5 separate regions of the Homo sapiens genome follow, and all the other regions are linked to region 3. Evidence: promoter capture Hi-C in human tissues and cell types (Jung and others, 2019). All regions are on one chromosome and are shown on one strand. The core of a region is centred on a gene start or on the middle of the fragment in contact, and the rest is flanking DNA. Distances in the headings are between cores, read along the strand shown. Region 1 overlaps ZGRF1 (zinc finger GRF-type containing 1). Region 2 has its middle 60 kb from the start of NEUROG2-AS1. Region 3 holds the start of NEUROG2 (neurogenin 2). Region 4 overlaps ZGRF1 (zinc finger GRF-type containing 1). Region 5 has its middle 35 kb from the start of NEUROG2-AS1.

Region 1 (2,700 bases), core at 149-2,648, 56 kb before region 3:
AGTGATTTCTGAGATTTTGCTACACCTATCACCTGATCAGTATACACCGTATCAAATTTGTAGTCTTTTTATCCTTCACTGCCCCCCTTACCCTTTCCCCTGAGTCCCCAAAGTCCATTGTATTATTATTATGCCTTTGTACCCTCATAACTTAGCTCCCACTTATGAGTAAGAACATACGATGTTTGATTTTTCCATTCCTGAGTTACTTCACTTAGAATAGTGGTCTCCAGTTCCATCCAGGTTGTTGCAAATGCCATTATTCGTTTCTTTTTATGGCTGAATAGTATTCCATGGGTGTGTGTGTGTGTGTGTGTGTGTGTGTGTGTGTATCACAATTTCTTTATCCACTTGTTGATTGATAGGCATTTGGGCTGGTTCCATATTTTTGTAATTGGGAATTGTGCTGCTATAAACGTGTAAGTATCTTTTTTGTGTTTTCCTCTGAATAGATACCCAGTAGTGGGATTGTTGGATCAAATGGTAGTTCTACTTTTAGTTCTTTAAGGAATCTCCACACTGTTTTCCACTGGTTGTACTAGATTACATTTCCACTAGCAGTGTAAAAGTGTTCCCTTTCATCCCTGCCAACATCTATTAATTTTGATTTTTTGATTATGGCCATTCTTGCAGGATTAAGGCAGTATTGCCTTGTGGTTTTGATTTGCATTTCCCTGATCATTAGGGATGTTGAGCATTTTTTCATGTTTGTTGGCCATTTGTGTATCTTCTTTTGAGAATTGTCTATTCATGTCCTTAGCCCACTTTTTGATGGGATCATTTGGTTTTTTTCTTGCTGATTTGTTTGAGTTCCTTGTAGATTCTGAGTGTTAATCGTTTGTCAGATGTATAGATTGTGAATATTTTCTCCCACTCTGTGGGTTGTCTGTTTACCCTGATGATTGTTAATTTTGCTGTGCAGAAGCTTTTTACTAATAGTTTAATTAAGTTCCACTTATTTAGCTTTGTTTTTATTGTATTTGCTTTTGGGTTTTTGGTCATGAAGTCTTAGCCTAAGCCAAAGTCAGAAGGGTTTTTCTGATGTTCTAGAATTTTTATGGTTTCAGGTCTTAGATTTAAATCCTCGATCCATGTTTAGTTGAATTTTGTATAAGGTGAGAGATGAGGATCCAATTTCATTCCTCCACATGTGGCTTGCTAGTTATCCCAGCACCATTTGTTGAATAGGGTGTTTTTTCTCCACTTTATGTTTTTGTTTGTTTTGTCAAAGATCAGTTGGCTCTAAGTATTTGGCTTTATTTCTGGGCTCTCTATTCTGTTCTATTGGTTTGTGTGCCTGTTTTTATACCAGTACCATGCTGTTTTGGTGGCTATGAGATTTAAATCTTCAGTCCACTTGAAGTTGATTCTTTTTTCTTTTGTATATGGTATGAAGTAGGGATCCAGTTTCATCTTTTTCTTTTTAATTACCAATTTTGCTAGAATAGTAACCATTTTTTATTGATTAGTCTCTCTTTTCCTCACTGATCTGAAATGCTACCTCTGTCATATAATCAGGTTTAAAGTAGCTGTGTGTGTTCTTGACTCCCTATTTTATACTGTAGGTTAATTTGTATATTGTTGTACCAGTTCCACACTGCCTTAATTACCATGGCTTCATAAATCCAAATATCAAATAGTGCAAGTTCCCCTCTCTGTTCTTAGATGTGACCTGGCTGTTCTTGGTCCTTTACTCTTTCATATATATTTTAGAATCATCTTATCAAGTTTCATGAAAAACTTGTTGGGATCTTAATTGGAATTGTACCTATAAAGTTGAGAAGGGATGACATCTTTAAAATACCAAGATTTAGGGCTGAGCATGGTGGCTCACGCCTGTAATCCCGACACTTTGGGAGGCCAAGACAGGAGGATAGCTTGAGCTCAGGAGTTTGGAGACCAGCCTGGGCAACATAGTGAGACCTTGTCTCAGAAAAAAAAAAAATTAAGATTTAATACCATGTACTTGCTGTATCTCTGTTTATTTAAAAATTGTTTGTAACATCTTATAATAAAGTTTTGCAAATTTCCCTGTAGAAGTTTTGAATATTTTTATCTTAAATTTATTCATATTCTCTGATACCATTGTATTGTTTGTGTTTTTATTCTTCTGACCAGTCTTGCCTGAGGTTTGTCTTATTTTGTTATTGTTTTCGAAGAACTGACTTGGCTTTATTGATCAGAAGATCAGCAATGTATTTTTGTTTTGTTTTTATTGTTGTTATTGGCTTCCTCTCTAATTTTTATGATTTCTTCTATTTTGTTTAGGATAGTATACTGTTCTTTTTACACATCTTAAGCTTGATACTTAGCTAATTTTGAGGCTTTTCTCTTCTCTAATATAATTATTAGGGCTGTAAGTTTTCCTTAAAGTACCACTCTTTTTTTTTTTTTTTGAAATGCAGTCTGGCTCTGTTGCCCAGGCTGAGTGCAGTGGCACAATCTTGGCTCACTGCAACCTCCACCTCCTGGGTTCAAGTGATTCTCCTGCCTCAGCTTCCCGAGTAGCTGGGACTACAGGCACCTACCACCACACCCAGCTAACTTTTTGTATTTTTAGTAGAGACAGGGTTTCACCATGGTGGCCAGGTTGGTCTTGAACTCCTCACCTCAAGTGATCTGCGTGCCTGGGCTCCCAAAGTGTTGAGTTTACAGATGTGAGCCTCCATGCCTGGCCTACCACTCTATTTTTGCTGAAGT
Region 2 (2,700 bases), core at 142-2,641, 61 kb after region 3:
CTATCATTAGTACATCAATTGTAACAGGTGGGTTGGCACTATACTGAGTTCCTATAGAGTGGTTTAAGTCCATGATCAAGCCTCCACTGAGGAGCCCCCACCTTGCTCCATCAAGCCATGGGTCATGCCCACAGAGCATGTCCAATGTCTGGACCCCATACTGGGCTGAAGCACTGCCATCCTGTGAAGAGGAAGGGTCTGCCAGGTCATCAAAGTGGTCAACCACATCTGAGACAGCCAATGAGGGATCAGAATCCAAAGAGATAGGTGGGATTTCAAATTCTTCATCACCTAAGCTTGGTGTATGGAATGTCTCGGCCCCTGACAGGAAGAGGTGTGACGGCCCTGTGATTGTCAGGTAATTGTCATTTCCTCCGGGAGACTCCATCTTCACACAACTGCTCCTACCATCTCAGACTGTCATCGCTCCCACCGCCCCACTGGACTCGGAACTGTGAGACCACTTCTTGTATCATGTGTATCCTATTTAACTTTCCTTAAACAAGCCTGTGTTCCTTGCATCTAAAAACCTTAAAATGTGTGTGAAACCCAGCATCTCAGAACCAGGAGCGCACCAAACTCACATTATGTGGTAGGCAACACTCTAAAGATGCCCTCCCCCAAGATTCTTATCTGTTGGTTGTTCAAACAGTAATACAGGCACTGCTGTAAAGTCCCAAGTCAGTTAACTTAATTAATTAATAAATTAATAAGTATTAATTAATTAATTAAGACAGAGTCTCTGTTGCCCAGGCTGGAGTGCAGTAGTGCGATCTCAGCTCACTGCAACCTCAGCCTCCTGGGTTCAAGTGATTCTCATGCCTCAGCCTCTCAAGTAGCTGGGATTACAGGCGTGAGCCACCACTCCTGGCTAATTTTTGTATTTCTAGTAGAGACGAGGTTTCACCATGTTGCCAAGGCTGGGCTTGAACTCCTGACCTCAAGGGATCTGCCCGTCTCAGCCTCCCAAAGTACTAGGATTACATGTGTGAGCCACCATGCCTGGTTGAAAGTCAGTTAACTTTAAAATATGGGGATTATCCAGGTGGGCCTGACTCAATTAGCTGACCCCTTTTAAAGCAGAAAGTTTTCTATGACTGGAAGCAGGAGAAGTCAGAGAAATTTGAAGCATGAGAAGGATTTAGTGTGCTGTTGTTGGCCTTGATGCTGGAGGGGTTCCATACAAGGACCACAGAGTGGCTACAAGTAACTGAGACAAACCCAGCTAACAGCCAACAAGGAAACAGCCACCTCAGTTCTACAACCACAAGGAACTGAATTTTACCAACATCAGGAATGAGATTGGAAGATGATCCCAAGCTCCAGAAGAGAACACAGCCAGCTGACAGATTGCTTTTAGGCCTGTGATACCCTGAGCTGAGGTGCCAGTCATACCATCCAGGATTTCTGACCTATGGAACTGTCAGATAACAAACAGGTATTGTTTTAAGCTGCTAAATTTGTGATAATTTATTAGGCAGCAATAGATGACTAATGCATGTTGATTTCAAGTGAATGGGACTCTCTGGAGCTGTGTGAGGCTGCAACCCTTAATGTAAATAATTTTGTGACCATGTGTTATCAGAGTCAAATACGTTTGGAAAACCACATTTTCATAATCAGGATGAAAGGTTAATGATGTTGAGTGGACTTATAGCAGAGACCGATCACAGAAAGCATGGAGGCAACACTATGAAACAAAACTTGAATACTCAAGTGTGGAGGTTAACGATACAGAAAGCAGATTCTATCAGTGAAAATTAAAGCAACTGGCATTCATCTAGGAATTAACCTTAGCTCAAGTGGAAAACACAACTAATATTGCTAACTCTAACTCTGCTTTGGTTTAAAGGATGAAAATATGGTGAATAAATAATGATAAAAAAATAGCAACAACAACCATTGATGAAACATTTACTCTTTGCCAGGCACCGTCCTAGCAAGGTTACATGTGCTCTAATTCTCACAAAAGTTTTGAAGTTGATACTATTAATCGTCTTTTAACCTTTGGGTAGTAGTAATGAAGAATGGTCCTGAGATTAATCAGGAAAGAGATGGGAAACAAAGGCAGCATTTTGGCACAGGAAGTTTAAATGCCTGTTTTAGTTTCATGATGTGCCTTTAATCTTGGAGTCTCAATAATCCTTAGCAGCTCTGGATAAAGGAGGAAACACACTCTTTAATTCATGAAACTCAATGCACTTAAAACACCTGGTTTCTGAGCCAGAACCAGTAAATTAGGCCCTCTTTATCACTTGTTTTAAAAGTAATTCATGCTTTATCTGAAGCATATCATGTAATAATGCATATAATATAGGTTAAAAACATTTACTGATCTTAAAAAATTGGATTACCAGTACATTTGGGTCACATAGTAGTAGAGTACTCCTAGAGATAATGATGCCCTATTCCTAGAGTCTAAGAACAGATGGCAATCAATTTCTCCGGCATTATCTGGTTTACAGATATATAAGAGCGATAAAAATCAACAGTAATAAAATACTGGTAACCATAATTTTCACCAATTTTATTCGTGTACCACAAAAATGATTTAATTTTCTTAATTAAATAAGCACTAAAATAAAAATCATGGAAAAGAAGATGGGCTCAATCTCCCTAAGTGATGGAGCACTCAAGCATTTTTACTTTTTCACTGAGACAAAAACCAAAAGCAAATAACAAACAAACAACAACAAAAAA
Region 3 (2,700 bases), core at 184-2,683:
AGGGGATCTCAAGGGACGCCACTCCGGTCTACTGAAGTCCGGATCCATCCCCATGTCGACAAGAGGGTGGGCATGAACGTGGGGAAAGTGGGGAGGGCTAACGAGCAATTGAGAACAAGTTTCCCCCGAGGTCCAGTAGCCCTTCAGCTCTTTTTTCTCATTGAAAAGCAGAATTGGGAAGATGGGCCCCTTGTCCCTACAACGCCCCCCAGCGCGGAGCAGAGGTCACAGAAATGTCAGCGCAGCGCATTTGCTTGCAGGAGCAGCAGCTCTGCCGCTCCTCCCGCTCGGTTCGCTGCCACCCACGCAGGAAGCCTCCTTGCTGTCCCTCCAGGCTATAAACTGGGTTAACCCCAGCAAAACCTGCATCAGTGCCCGGAGCCTCAGTTTCCTGTATGTAAAATGAGGGGGATCCTTTCAGCTCTAACATGTGAGTGATTTCATTCTCACATCCTCTAAAAGCTCATCAACTGCTCCCCTATCCGACCTCCCCTCCCAAGAGACGCCTGTTTGAATCCCCAGTGTCCTCTCCCTTCACTCTCCCACGCCAGTTTCGACGGACCCCAAACACACTTGTTCACGAGGTGTCCACATCTCTCCATCCACGCCATTCTCCTCCCCTAACCAAATGAATCCATTTTAAAATCGTTTACTATTTGATACAACCCCTAAGAGGCTTTGCCAAGAGACGCCCGGCAGCACCACAGGGCTAACTGCTTTCCCCGGGATTCTGACCCCCATTAACTAATTCCTAGTTCCCATCACCCGGGAGTTAGGAGGGCCGGCAGCGCCGGGTGCGGTGCCTGCGCGCGCGCCGGGCGGGGGGAGCCTCGGCGGCAGCGAGGACGAAGGCGGGGGCGGTAGCACGGGTCCCCCCATCCGCCCCCAGCGCTCGGGCCCCTAATGAGCTGCTGAAAGGGAGCGGGCTCCGGTGCGCGTGGCTCGCAGGCCTCCCGGAGTCCAGGGCGCCCTGATTGGCCAGCTGCGCCTCGCGACCTCCATTCATTAATAAATTAGCGGCACGCTCCAGCCGAGCGCGAGCCACCAATCACAATGGACAGCGGCGGCGACAACAGCCGCAGCTTGAGCCTCTGCGGCCGCTGCGGCTTCGCCAGCTCCGGCCGCAGCCCGGAGCTCCAACAGGAGCTTTAGAACCATTTTATGTTGATTAGATAAAGGGGGAAAAGAGAGGCGGGGGTGGTGGGAGGAGGAGGATGGATGGCAGGGCCAAGGGAGGGGGAAAGGCGGTGAAGAAAGAGGAAGAAATGAATGATGATAATGCAATGAAAAGAATAAGCCAGAGGAGGGAAAAGCGGGGGAGAAGGGGGGCAGGACTGACAGGAGGAGGAGGCGGTGGCGGGGGAGGAGGGGGCCCGGGGCAGATCTGATTGTTTTCTTGGTGGTATATAAGGGGTTTTAAGGAGAGTCGTGTGCCAGACACGCAGCCACTGAACCACAAGCAGCTTCGCGTTAACTGGAGTGCCTGGGAGTCGCGTGCCAGGAGCCGCACGGCCAGGGACTGACTGACAGACAGACACGCACCACCACCACAACACACGAGACCCGGGCGGGCCGCCGCCGCCGCCGCCGGGGCTCTTGGCAAACTCGCCGGTCGCAGAGGTCCCCCGCGGAGCTGCGCCACAGTAGCGCCGGGCTTGCAGCTTTCACGCCGGGCGAAGGACCCGGCGCTGCGCTCGCAGCTGCGCGGAGATTCCCGGCACAGGCCAAAGTCACAGCAACGCTGAGGCACAGTTAGAGCCAACTAAGTAAGTATTCGAGCCACCGCTTCCAACTACGCAGGTGGTTTCCCCGCACTCAGTCCAACCACACCCGCACGCCCTCTGCTCCGCGCAGAATCTTTGTCGCGGAGGCCGCAGTCCCTTCTCGGGGAGGGAACGCAGGACCGCCCGCGGAGGGCAGGACCCGGCTGACTGGCAGCAGGGTCACAGCGAGCGCTAGCGGCGCTCCTGACCTTGGTTAGCACTGCCTGGGTTTCTTCCTTCGCCTTCCTGCTCCGCGCCATTCGGAGCTGGTCTTCTCGGGTGCGCGCCGGAGCACGCCCCTGTGACACGAAGATCGCGCCTCTGTTTCTTTCCTTACACCTCACTGCCTTTTTCCCCTTTCTCTCTTCGGTAGGATGTTCGTCAAATCCGAGACCTTGGAGTTGAAGGAGGAAGAGGACGTGTTAGTGCTGCTCGGATCGGCCTCCCCCGCCTTGGCGGCCCTGACCCCGCTGTCATCCAGCGCCGACGAAGAAGAGGAGGAGGAGCCGGGCGCGTCAGGCGGGGCGCGTCGGCAGCGCGGGGCTGAGGCCGGGCAGGGGGCGCGGGGCGGCGTGGCTGCGGGTGCGGAGGGCTGCCGGCCCGCACGGCTGCTGGGTCTGGTACACGATTGCAAACGGCGCCCTTCCCGGGCGCGGGCCGTCTCCCGAGGCGCCAAGACGGCCGAGACGGTGCAGCGCATCAAGAAGACCCGTAGACTGAAGGCCAACAACCGCGAGCGAAACCGCATGCACAACCTCAACGCGGCACTGGACGCGCTGCGCGAGGTGCTCCCCACGTTCCCCGAGGACGCCAAGCTCACCAAGATCGAGACCCTGCGCTTCGCCCACAACTACATCTGGGCACTCACCGAGACCCTGCGCCTGGCGGATCACTGCGGGGGCGGCGGCGGGGGCCTGCCGGGGGCGCTCTTCTCCGA
Region 4 (2,700 bases), core at 109-2,608, 36 kb before region 3:
GTTGTATTCTAGGAGAAACAGTGATGGAGAGGATCTGACCCTGAGTAAAATATCCAAATGAAATTTGTGTTTGATGCTCTCCAAGAAAGCCAAGACTTTTAGTGTTTGTATATATCCAAGAATCCAGGAGGCTCAGACGCTAGCTTCCAGGTATTGGAAGCCAAGACTAAGCACACAAGATTCCAGGCTGTAACAGGTAGCACTATCTCCTTTATCAAGTTTTGATCTAGGGAAGCCTGGGCATCAGCTGTTGGAAGAGAAAAAATCAATCAGCAGCTTCCTCCTATGAAAGGAGAGCATGGGGAAAAGCAATGGGGATGGAGTAAAAGAAAGTTGTTGGCTTCTTGGGCCACTTGCACATTGGTAACTTTCTGCTAGAGAGTTGAGAAAATGAGTCTACTTGGGACACTGTATTGATCAGCTATTGCTGAAATAATGAGGGTTAACAAACTCAGTCTCAGTACTTTAAGACAACAGCTTATGACTCTACAGGTCAAGTGGTGTGGCTTGGCTTGAGGCTATGGGTAAAGTCTCTTATTCTGAGAACAGTTGCTATGGCATGATCTTCTAACAGATGGCAGAAGTGCAAGAGGGCAGGACAGATCACAGAAACACATTTAAAGCTTCAGTTCATATTATGTTTGCTGACATTCCATTTGCACAGGTCACACGGCCAAGCCTAACATCAGTGAGGCAGGGAAATATACTCCCCTACTTCTCTGGTGGGAAGCACTGCCAAGTAACATGGCAAAGGGTGTGGATATGTAATAATACTTTCCTAGGGCGGGAAGGAGAAACTGAAAATAATAACCAATCTATAACAAGTTTTGGTTCTGGAAGTCCTCAGAAAACTTCAGACTAACTTTCTGTTATTTGAATTATAGAGTTAACTCTATACTCTCTTCTTAACCAAATCCAGAAAGGCTTAGTTTGGCTGTGTTCAATTAATACAAATTAGTCATTTATGTAAACTACTTATCATTTTACTCACCCAACGTAACAATGATATATAAGAATCATTATTCATATATATCATTGTTAATGATTTCTTGGATGATTTTCTGAATGAAAGCCCAGTTACTATGATCTATTGCTCATTTGTATCACCTATTCACAAATGAAAACTATTTTAGAGGAATTATTTTTTAGAAATTTTCTCTGACATATTTCTAAGGTCCAGCCAGGCATTCGGACCTGACACATTTCTTTCTTTCTTTTTTTTTTTTTTTGAGCCAGAGTCTCGCTCTGTCACCCAGGCTGGAGTGCAGTGGCGCAGTCTCAGCTCACTGCAACCTCCACCTCTTGGTTCAAGCAATTCTCCTGCCTCAGCATCCTGAGTAGCTGGGACTACAGGCACATTCCACCGCACCCGGCTAATTTTTGTATTTTTAGTAGAGACAGGGTTTCACAGTGTTGGCCAGGCTGGTCTCAAACTCCTGACCTTAAGTGATCCTCCCACCTCTGCCTCCCAAAGTGCTGGGATTACAGGCATGAGCCACCGCGCCCGGAAGACCTGACTCATTTCTAAAGTGGCATGTCTTCACAATAAAACTAATTTTTAAAAATGCTTCATAGTTAATTAATACTTGCTAGGTCAGTAACAAAATCTTTTCTGCTGTTAGAATCTCAGCAACATAATAATAAATAAAAAGATAACATAATTTTTTAAAGAAAACTTAATACTTTAGGTTTTTGTATTAGATATTTCTTTAAATTTAAAAAATGCTTCTTGACACATAACTTTAGAGTTCTCATTCTAAGATTGTTTTGTAGATATAGTTGCCAGAAATTAAATAAAATGAATAATATTTCAGAGTGGCACCAAAGCTTGATCATTTTTAAAGAACTCAATATTTAAATACTGTGGAATTTCTGATATAAATGTGGCTTTAAGATTTTTGTTTTTGTTTTTAACAAAAGAAGAAAACCTAACTGATACAGGGCTATTGTGTGTGGTGAATATTATTTATTATTAAAATAAGGCAGTTGTAATGTTTTCTTATTTTGTAGGATCTGTGGAGGCAGTATTTAATTTGTAAAGCATATTTTTTGTTAGTTTGTTGAAAAAAGGTATGGTCAGTTGGTATGAACTGCCCTTGCTATCAAGAAGTGTAATTTTATAGATCTTCAGATTGTTAGAAGAGAATAAGTACAGTCATATATCATTCTGAGAAATGTATTGTTTTACAATTTTGTCATTGTGTGAACGTCATAGTGTACTTACACAAACCTAGATGGTATAGCCTACTACACACTAGGCTACATAGTATAGCCTATTGCTCCTCAGCTACAAATCTATACAGCATGTACTGAATACTGTAGGCATTTAATTGTAACATGGTGGTATTTCTGTATCTAAACAGAAAATGTACTGTGAAAATATGGTATAAAATATTTAAAATGGTACACCTGTATAGGGAGGGAGGGAAGGAGAAATTGGAAATAATAACCACAAAGTTTTGGTTGTAGAAGTCCTCAGAAAACTATATATACTATAGCTTTTTAATAGTTAACTTTATAGTTAACTGACCATGAATGGAGCTTGCAGGACTGGAAGTCACTGTGGCTGAGTCAGTGAGTGGGTGGTGAGTGAATGTGGAAGCCTAGGACATTACTGTACACTACTGTAGACTTCTAAAAAAATTTTTAATTTTTTTGAGATAGAATCTTGCTCTGTCCAGGCTGGAGTGCAGTTTGTGA
Region 5 (2,700 bases), core at 72-2,571, 36 kb after region 3:
GCAGCAGTAATAGTGAGTGATAAGACAATATCAGGAAACCAAGCATGTATGATTTGCAGTCCACATAAAAGATGGAGAGAAAGAAAAAATATTATAGCACTAATGACCATAAATTTGATGAAATCTATGAAACCAACCATCCCAGTAGTTCAACAAATCTGAAGCAAAAAAACATATATATATATAAAAGTATGCTGTGGTATACAAAATGATCAAATTTCTAAAAATCAGTGATAAAAGATAATAAGGTTTTTAAGTAGTGAGAGAAAAAAATAGTTGGAGAAACAAAAGTGAGAAAGACAACAGACTTCTCTTCAGAAATAATGCGTCCAAACATCTTTAATATGGAATGACATATTTTAAAAAACTCCACCTAAAATTCTATACCCAGCAAAAATATCCTTTAGAAATGAAATTCAAATAAGGACTTATATAAACATTTAAAAGCCAAGATAATTCATTGGCAGCAGATAACTCCTTCCTCGAAAGAAAGCCTTTCAAGGCAGAATGAAAATGATACAAGATGGACATATGAATCTATAAAAAGAAATGAAGAGTGCCAGAAATGATAAACACTTGGGAAAATATAAAATACTTTTATTTAAAAAATATTTTTAGGTGGTTCCAAGATGGCCAAATAGGAACAGCTCCAGTGTGCAGCTCCCAGCATGAGCAACGCAGAAGACAGTTGATTTCTGCATTTCCAACTGAGGTACCGGGTTCATCTCACTGGAGCTTGTCAGACAGTGGGTGCAGCCCACCAAGCATGAGCCGAAGCAGGGCGAGGCATCGCCTCGCCCAGGAAGTGCAAGAGGCCACGGAATTCCTTTTCCTAGCCAAGGGAAGCTGTGACAGATGGCACCTGGAAAGTCAGGTCACTCCCACCCTAATACTGCGCTTTTCTGATGGTCTTAGCAAACGGCGCACCAGGAGATTATATCCCGCACATGGCTTGCAAGGTCCCATGCCCACGGAGCCTCGCTCGTTGCTAGCACAGCAGTCTGAGATTGAACTGCAAGGTGACAGTGAGGCTGGGGGAGGGGTGCCCACCATTGCTGAGGCTTGAGTAGGTAAACAAAGTAGCAGGAAGCTCGAACTGGGTGGAACCCAACTGCAGCGAAAGGAGGCCGGCCTGCCTCTGTACACTCCACCTCTGGGGGCAGGGCATAGCTGAACAAAAGGCAGCAGAAACCACTGCAGACTTAAATGTCCCTGTCTGACAGCTTTGATGTGAGTAGTGGTTCTCTTACCACGGAGTTTGAGATCTGAGAATGGACAGACTGCCTCCTCAAGTGGGCCACTGACCACTGAGTAGCCTAACTGGGAGGCACCCCCAAGTAGGGGCAGACTGACACCTCACATGGCCGGGTACCCCTCTGAGACGAAGCTTCCAGAGGAACAATCAGGCAGCAACATTTGCTGTTCAGCGATATTCGCTGTTCTGCAGCCTCTGCTGCTAATACCCAGGCAAACAGGTCTGGAGTAGACCTCTAGCAAACTCCAACAGACCTGCAGCTGAGGGTCCTGACTATTAAAAGGAAAACTAACAAACAGAAAGGACATCCACACGAAAACCCTATCTGTACGTCACCATCTTCAAAGACCAAAGGTAGATAAAACCACAAATATGGGGAAAAAACAGAGCAGAAAAGCTGAAAATTCTAAAAATCAGAGCACCTCTCCCCCTCCAAAGGAACACAGATCCTCACCAGCAACGGAACAAAGCTGGACGGAGAATGACTTTGACGAGTTGAGAGAGGCTTCAGACCTCAAACTTCTCCGAGCTAAAGGAGGAAGTTCGAACCCATCGCAAAGAAGCTAAAAACCTTGAAAAAAGATTAGATGAATGGCTAACTAGAATGACCAGTGTAGAGAAGTCCTTAAATGACCTGATGGAGCTGAAAAACATGGAACGAGAACTACGTGACGAATGCACAAGCTTCAGTAGCTGATTCGATCAACTGGAAGAAAGGGTATCAGTGATTGAAGATCAAATGAATGAAATGAAGCGAGAAGAGAAGTTTAGAGAAAAAAGAGTAGAAAGAAATGAACCAAGCCTCCAAGAAATATGGGACTATGTGAAAAGACCAAATCTATGTCTGATTGGTGTACCTGAAAGTGACAGGGAGAATGGAACCAAGTTGGAAAACACTCTGCAGGATATTATCCAGGAAAACTTCCCCAATCTAGCAAGGCAGGCCAACATTCAAATTCAGGAAATACAGAGAACACCACAAAGATATCCCCAAGAAGAGCAACTCCAAGACACATAATTGTCAGATTCACCAAAGTTGAAATGAAGGAAAAAATGTTAAGGGCGGCCAAAGAGAAAGGTTGGGTTACCCACAAAGGGAAGCCCATCAGACTAACAGCGGATCTCTCGGCAGAAACTCAACAAGCCAGAAGAGAGTGGGGGCCAATATTCAACATTCTTAAAGAAAAAAATTTTCAACCCAGAATTTCATATCCAGCCAAACTAAGCTTCATAAGTGAAGGAGAAATAAAATCCTTCACAGACAAGCAAATTCTGAGAGATTTTGTCACCACCAGGCCTGCCCTAAAAGAGCTCCTGAAGGAAGCACTAAACATGGAAAGGAACAACCGGTACCAGCCACTGCAAAAACATGCCAAATTGTAAAGACCGTTGATGCTAGGAAGAAACTGCATCAACTAATGAGCAAAATAACCAGCTAACATCAT

Evidence for each region. Contacts are between HindIII fragments. The study calls those that stand out against the background at their distance.
Region 1: a contact is called between a fragment that was not itself captured here and the fragment with the promoter of NEUROG2 in region 3, in 3 of the 25 tissues and cell types used here (adrenal gland, pancreas and stomach).
Region 2: a contact is called between a fragment that was not itself captured here and the fragment with the promoter of NEUROG2 in region 3, in 1 of the 25 tissues and cell types used here (neural progenitor cells).
Region 4: a fragment that was not itself captured here is called in contact with the fragment with the promoter of NEUROG2 in region 3 in 4 of the 25 tissues and cell types used here (IMR-90 fibroblasts, bladder, psoas muscle and 1 more).
Region 5: a fragment that was not itself captured here is called in contact with the fragment with the promoter of NEUROG2 in region 3 in 3 of the 25 tissues and cell types used here (aorta, pancreas and thymus).

The regions. Positions count from the first base shown.
Region 1 is chr4:112,570,799-112,573,498 of GRCh38, reverse strand. All of the region lies in intron 16 of ZGRF1 (zinc finger GRF-type containing 1), which reads left to right. Among named protein-coding and RNA genes, the nearest start is that of NEUROG2, 56 kb to the right of the region's middle. The HindIII fragment of the contact is 5,551 bases long and covers 1-2,700 here.
Region 2 is chr4:112,453,612-112,456,311 of GRCh38, reverse strand. It overlaps the pseudogene TOX4P1. Among named protein-coding and RNA genes, the nearest start is that of NEUROG2-AS1, 60 kb to the left of the region's middle. The HindIII fragment of the contact is 7,383 bases long and covers 1-2,700 here.
Region 3 is chr4:112,514,913-112,517,612 of GRCh38, reverse strand. NEUROG2 (neurogenin 2) reads left to right here and starts at 1,433. Exons shown (of 2, transcript NM_024019.4): 1 at 1,433-1,766; 2 at 2,137-2,700. The coding sequence starts at 2,138. It overlaps NEUROG2-AS1 (NEUROG2 and ZGRF1 antisense RNA 1), which reads right to left and starts at 2,234. Exons shown (of 4, transcript NR_161159.1): 1 at 1,973-2,234. LOC124900760 (a long non-coding RNA gene) reads right to left here and starts at 808. Exons shown (of 2, transcript XR_007058231.1): 1 at 574-808. RefSeq lists enhancers at 212-331, 432-531, 1-662 and silencers at 672-951, 2,272-2,341, 2,602-2,700. The HindIII fragment of the contact is 15,153 bases long and covers 1-2,700 here.
Region 4 is chr4:112,550,806-112,553,505 of GRCh38, reverse strand. The region is part of intron 22 of ZGRF1 (zinc finger GRF-type containing 1); the gene reads left to right. Among named protein-coding and RNA genes, the nearest start is that of NEUROG2, 36 kb to the right of the region's middle. The HindIII fragment of the contact is 4,769 bases long and covers 1-2,700 here.
Region 5 is chr4:112,478,620-112,481,319 of GRCh38, reverse strand. No RefSeq gene overlaps it. Among named protein-coding and RNA genes, the nearest start is that of NEUROG2-AS1, 35 kb to the left of the region's middle. The HindIII fragment of the contact is 4,196 bases long and covers 1-2,700 here.